Linked DNA regions of Homo sapiens: region 1 is linked to region 2. Evidence: promoter capture Hi-C in human tissues and cell types (Jung and others, 2019). All regions are on one chromosome and are shown on one strand. The core of a region is centred on a gene start or on the middle of the fragment in contact, and the rest is flanking DNA. Distances in the headings are between cores, read along the strand shown. Region 1 overlaps IFITM10 (interferon induced transmembrane protein 10). Region 2 holds the start of DEAF1 (DEAF1 transcription factor).

Evidence for each region. Contacts are between HindIII fragments. The study calls those that stand out against the background at their distance.
Region 1: a fragment that was not itself captured here is called in contact with the fragment with the promoter of DEAF1 in region 2 in 1 of the 25 tissues and cell types used here (spleen).

What each region holds. Positions count from the first base shown.
Region 1 is chr11:1,730,731-1,734,006 of GRCh38, forward strand. It overlaps IFITM10 (interferon induced transmembrane protein 10), which reads right to left. Exons shown (of 3, transcript NM_001170820.4): 3 at 1,676-3,276. Among named protein-coding and RNA genes, the nearest start is that of IFITM10, 18 kb to the right of the region's middle. The HindIII fragment of the contact is 4,222 bases long and covers 1-3,276 here.
Region 2 is chr11:693,690-696,869 of GRCh38, forward strand. It overlaps DEAF1 (DEAF1 transcription factor), which reads right to left and starts at 1,533. Exons shown (of 12, transcript NM_021008.4): 1 at 1,070-1,533. The coding sequence starts at 1,358. TMEM80 (transmembrane protein 80) reads left to right here and starts at 2,127. Exons shown (of 5, transcript NM_001042463.3): 1 at 2,127-2,157. The coding sequence starts at 2,139. RefSeq lists silencers at 905-1,154, 1,175-1,294, 1,305-1,604, 2,105-2,524 and enhancers at 970-1,509, 1,510-2,051, 2,052-2,591, 3,132-3,180. The HindIII fragment of the contact is 41,051 bases long and covers 1-3,180 here.

The sequences.
Region 1 (3,276 bases), core at 23-2,522, 1.0 Mb after region 2:
GGAAAGAATGTTATGCGGATTTCCAGTGTCTGGAGAAGAGGCATCAAGCTCCACCACCTGCAGGAATGGGCAGTGGCTTGGCAAGGGCAGGGGAGCCTGGAGAGCTCTGGACCACTGTGGTCAGGGGAAGGGAGGCTGGGGGATGACCCTATAGCACCTCCTCCCCAATGCACACACATCTTACACATGCACACACACACAATACACACATGCAGACATACACAACACACACATGCACACAGCCACACGCAGCACATATACACAATACACACATGCACAGTCACATACATGCACACATGTACACAAAACACACACATGTGAAGACACACACATGCACATATACATAATACACACATGCACACAGTCACACACACATGCACACAGCCACACACAGCATATACACAATACACACATGCACACACATCTTACACATGCACACAGCCACACACAGCACACATACACAATACACACATGCACACAGCCACACACAGCACACACACACAATACACACATGCAGACATACACAACACACACATGCACACAGCCACACGCAGCACATATACACAATACACACGCACACACATCTTACACATGCACACAGCCACACACAGCACATATACACAATACACACATGAACAGTCACATACATGCACACATGTACACACAACACACACATGTGCAGTCACACACATGCACATATACATAATACACACATGCACACAGTCACACACACATGCACACAGCCACACACAGCACATATACACTTATGCACGGCCACACACGTACACACAACACACACACACATACATAGTCACACACATGCACACAGTCACAAACATGCACATACAACACATCCACATGCATGCATACACATGTACACACAACACATCCACATGCATGCATACACATGTATACACAACACATCCACATGCATGCAGTCACACACACTCACACAAAGCACATTTACACACATGCACACAGTCATACATGCACACCCTTGTACACACAACACACACACATGCACACAGGCACACACACATGCACACATAACGTGAATATCACGTGCAGTCACACACATGCAAACACACACACAGTTACATACATTCAAACACATGTGCACATAATACATGCATGCATAGAGTCACACACACATGCAGTCACACACAACACATACATGCACACAGTCACACAGAAGCAGTCACACACACATGCACCACATACACAGACAAAAGCACACAGGCACACACACTACACACACACACGAACACATATGCACACAGTCTCACACACACACACACACACACACAGATGCACAGTGAGGCTCAGCCTTTACAGTCCCCTCAGTCTTGATCCTTTATTTATTTATTTATTGAGACAGGGTCTCACTCTGTCACCCAGGCTGGAGTGCAGTGGTGCAATCACGGCTCACTGCAGCCTTGAGCTCCTGGGCACAAGCAATCCTCCTGCCTCAGTCTCCCAAAGCACTGGGATTATAAGCATGAGCCACTGAGCCAAGCCCCAATCCTTTTAAACTGGCCTGTTGGGCTGGGGTCCCAAGGGCAGTGACCAGGGCAGCATGGGGAGAGGGGAGGGTAGGGAAAGTCACCTGACTCCCCAAAGATGCACAAATATATGGAGGCACACAGGGAGAAGGACAGAGAGAGTGAGAGGGGGATTGATTCTTTCGTTCGTACAATGTTTATTGAATGTCAAATGTCTGCCAGGCACTGTGCAAAATCACATAAAAATGAGGTGGGAGGAGTGCAGTGGACAGGGAGCGCCAGCAGGTCAGGCATGAGTACAGACAGGCAAAGACACAGACTTCGAAGCCAGAGACCAGCGCCGGAGCTGATGCCTGCTTGCCTGCCTGCTGAGGGCGAGAATGCACCTGCTGTGGGGGCCTGACCTCACCGTGGACACCCACCGCGGGAGCACCAGCCCTCCCCCGGTCCCCAGGGTATGGAAGCCAGGGGCCTTTGTAGCCCCACATTGCCCGGAGTTGGATACAAACATCCCAAGAGCTAGGGGTGCCTTTACTGGCTGGAAGGTGACCGTTCCATTTCCCCAACATGAACTCAGAAAGCTTCAGCCAGGCGCAGGAACATCCCAGGGAAAAGCTGGCTGAGGGCTTCCCTAATGCAGGGGTGTTTCCTCCTGGCCCCTGTCCCAGGCAGCCACCAGCACTGCCACCAAATGTTTAAGGAAAATAGGCAAAGAAAGCATTTGCCCCTCTACTTTCTTCCCTCCCAGGCATAACATGGAAGACACCTGGACACTGGGGTTGGCCTTAGCTGCCCCAGGAACTAGAAGCCAGGACCCTCTCTCTTCCAAGGCCCAGCAGCCTCTGCCATCCTCTTCCAGCCCAGGCTTGTCCAGGAAGCCTCTGGGTCTAATGGTGCAAGCATCCGAAGTGCCCACAACCAGGCTGCCCACAGTCTCGGCAAGGCTTTCAGCCGCCCCTGGCACTTCTCCCACCATCCTCCAAGAGGCTCAATGACAGCTCCGTGCAGCCCCGCATCAGCCTCGCAGCCCGCCGCCTCCTGCCCTCCCATCCCACCACTGCCTGGGTTCAAGGGTCAGTGCTCAAGAGTCCCACATGGTCCCCACCCTGTCCCCTCTCTCGACTCTGACCCCCAAGCCCTCCCATTTTGAGGTCACACACTCCCCTCCCCTCTTCCCTGAGCACCCCCTCCATCCACCTCTGCCTGGGCTGCACCCCAGGCCCACGGGCAGGTGCTGGCCACCCTCCCTTCCTCTGCAGGTTTCTGGGTCAGGACTGTGACCAGAATCTTGCTCGCTGCACTCCTGCCACGGCTGTGCCCTGTCCCCTGCGTTTGTCCCATCTGCTGCTAGCTCAAGGTCCTCCCTTCTGAGGCACCCCACGTCTCCAGCCCAGAAGGCTCTTCCCTTCTCTGCTTGGTATCTTAAAGTCAACATCTTCTTCTCCCTGGTTTCCTGCCCTTGGTACACAGCCCTCTCCACTGGGCTGTCCAAGTCAAGGGACAGGAATCCTCCGGGCTTCTCCCCCACCTTACCTTCCAAACCAGTCAACCCCACTGACTGCACAGCTGCCACGCAGGCGCCCTGCTGTCCAGCCCTCTGCTGCCAGCCCCAGCCCAGGCTCAGCTCCCTCCACTTGCATCCACCTCTGTCCACTGGACTCCCCTCCAAGCTGGCCTCGCTACCCCAGAGGGCACGAGCTTCCCAAAACATGAGGCGCACGGCCATGCCCCTTCCCTGGGAAGGTTTGCCTGCCTTCCCACGGAATAGCAAGTC
Region 2 (3,180 bases), core at 283-2,782:
AAGGGCGGGACACAGGAGGTGGGTGGACGGCACCAGCCCCGTAGGGCATCTGTGAGCTCTGCCACGGGCTCCCAGTGTTTTGGAGCCTGAGAAGGAGACTGACCTGTGTGGCAAGAAACTATAAGCAGCTTATATAAAAATGTGGACTGGAAAGCCACAGCAGCCTCCCCAAAGGAAGCCCGACAGGAAGCGGGGCAGGAGGAGCAGGTCCTTAGGGAAAAAGGCAAGAGGAAGAGGGAGGACTGGGAGGGGAGCCTGCACAGGTGGCTCCGCAGCCCCCCTGGGCCACCACACAGCCACGCTGACCTCTGGCATCATGGCCTCCAGCAGGCTGCCCACCCCTGGCTCCCCAGCGCTCAGGTCATGCCTGAACTGGCCCTCAGGAAGTGGGGGGTTCCTGGTGACCACAGGTGCCCACCCACCCCAGGGCTTCTCCAGGACAGGTGGGGGGAGCCAGGATGGACGAAGGCAGGGCAGGGGCAGAGCTGCACAGGGGGGACCAGTAGGAGGCGGGGCTGCCACAAAGAAAAGGGGGGCAGGGGGCAGGTGTGTGCAGGGCAGGGCCAGGTCAGGTGAGGCTAGGCAGGTCACCAGGGGCAGGTGTGCGGGGCAGGTGTTTGGGGTAGGTGGGGCAGGCTGGTCACCTGGGGCAGGTATGTGGGGCAGGTGTGCGGGGCAGGTAGGGCAGGCCGATCACGTGGGGCAGGTGGGGAAGGCTGGAAACGTCGAGCAGGTGTGCGAGGCAGGTATTTGTGGCAGGTGGGGCAGGCTGGTCACCTGGAGCAGGTACGTGGGGAAAGTGTGAGGGGCGGGTGGGGCAGGTGTGAGAGGCAGATGTGAGGGGTGAGCTAGTCACGTGGGGCAGGTGTGCAGGGCGGGTGGGGCGGGCGGGTCACGTGGAGCAGGTGTGAGGGGCAGGTGTGCAGGGCGGGTGGAGCGGGCTGGTCACGTGGAGCAGGTGTGAGGGACAGGTGTGGCGGGCTGGTCACCTGGGACAGTTGTGCGGGGCAGGCGCGCGGGGTAGGCGCGCGGGAACCGGACGAGGCGAGAGGCCGGCGGGCGCACTTGCCTGCGAAGGCTGCGGCAGCGGCGGCCTCGTCGGGGCCGGGCAGGGCCTCGGCGCCCATGTCCATGTGCCCGGGCTCCGCCGCCATCACCGCCACTGCCGTGACCCGCGGCGTCTCCCGCTCCGCCTCCGAGTCTGCGTCCTCCTCCGAGTCCTCGTCCCTGCTCAGCACCGGCTCCTCCGCCTCGCCTCCTGCCGCGGCCGCGGCCGCCGCCGCCACAGCGGCCGCGGCCGCCACCGCCGCCGCCTCAGCCAGGCCCAGCTGCTTTGCCGCCGAGTCCGAGTCCTCCATCCGGACTCCGCCGAGCCTTCCCGAAGGCGCCGTCCGGGACCGCCCGAAGCGCCGGTCGCGGAGCCCGAAGCGGGGCCCGAAGAGGACGCCCGAGCTGGGCCGAGGCCGCCCGAAGCCGCCGCCCGAATAGGGACCGAAAAGGCAGCCAGCCGCCGAGCAGAGCCGAGCCGAGTCCGCCCGCGGAGCGGAGCCGAGGCGAACAGAGGCTGCCCGAGTAGGAGCCGAACCTGCACGAAGCCGCCGAGCCGAGACCGAGTCCTGAACCGAGGAGGGTCGAAGTTCCCCGAAGTGGGAAGCCGAATCAGTCCGAATAGGTCCGAGTCCTCACGAGGGCTTCCGAGAGACTCGGCCCCTGCTCTCCTCACTGTCCTGACAGGCTGAGGCGGCTGTCGTCCCCGGCCGACAGGGCTGGACGGCTCTAGGCAGATTCTCGCCGGCGGCCGGCGCAATTCTGCCTCTCAGAGAGAGCTTAGTGCCGCGGGTTTCGCCCGTTCCCGCCGCCGGCGGAAGCCGAGTCAGCCCGAGGCCGAGCCGAGACGAGCCGAATGTCCCCGAGGCCGAATGCTCCCGAACGTCGGTTCTCCACCTCTTCCCTTCCGAAAGTGCCCGAGCGGTGCCGGACGGACTAATCGGGCCTCGGCCGTGGCTCGGACGTCCGCTCCCGAAACGCGGCGCGGTCGGGCCCCTTCGTCAGGAGACGCGAAAATGGCCGAAGGAGCGCGAGCGCGCGGGCCGAGAGGCTGCCGGGATCGCGACGGACCGGCGGGCGGGGCGGGTAAGATGGCGGCCCCGCGGCGAGGTGAGCTCGGGCGGGGTGGGGGCTTCCGGGCTTGCAGCGGCGGGCGCGGCGTTTCCCTGTGGTGACAATCCGGTTTCCGCTTTCGGTGCGCTCACGGGGCCGTGCCACCGTCTCTACGTGAGCGAGACAGCTCCGTCACCCCATCGAGAAGCGCGGCCTGGCCTGGCCTGGGTGGCGGGCGTCCTGCACCCCGAAGAGCTCCCCCGCGCGCGGGCGCCTGGCCCCGGGCAGGGTGGGTGCGGAGCGGCTCTGGGGGCCCCAGTCCCCGGCAGCTCTTGTCCCGCGCGTGGTTTTTGTGAAGACACGTGGGCGGGATGGGCGCAGGGTTTCGGTAGCCTTGGAACTCTCGCCAAAGAAAATCGCGGGCGCCGGTGCCTCAGCCGTCCTGCCTGAGAGACTCGCCTCCGAGAGGAGGAAGGGACAGACCAAAGCAGTAAATCGGCCATCCTGCAGAGGAGCCGCCTTCTGCTGTCTGTGGGTACAGCCAGAACTCCCATACGCGGGCGCTGAAGTGCCAAACCTTCGTGCGTGTTCTCTAGTAATTAGGTGCATTGTTTTGAAGGAATAAAGAATGGCTACTCCATAGGCAGGACAGCCTCTAGTAACCAGGTTTGTTTTGTGTATTTTCATTTGGTTAAAAATTAAGTTTAGGTTGGGCGCAGTGGCTCAGGCCTGTAAGCCTGACAGTTTGGGAAGCCGAGGCTGCAGGATCATTTGAGGCCAGCCTGGGCAACATAGCAAGACCCCCTCTATAAAAAAAAAACTGTAAACATCAGCCAGGCGGTGGCGCACCCCTGTGGGCCAAGCTATTCTGGAGGCTGAGGCTGGCGGATCACTTGAGCCCAGGAGGTCGAGGTTGCAGTGAGCCGTGATGGCGCCACTGCACTCCAGCCTGGGCGACAGAGCGAGACCCCCTTCTACAAAAAAAAAATTAAAAATTACCCCGGGGAAGGCCAGGCGCAGTAGCTCACGCCTGTAATCCCAGCACTTTGGGAGGCCAAAGCGGGCGGATCACCTGAGGTC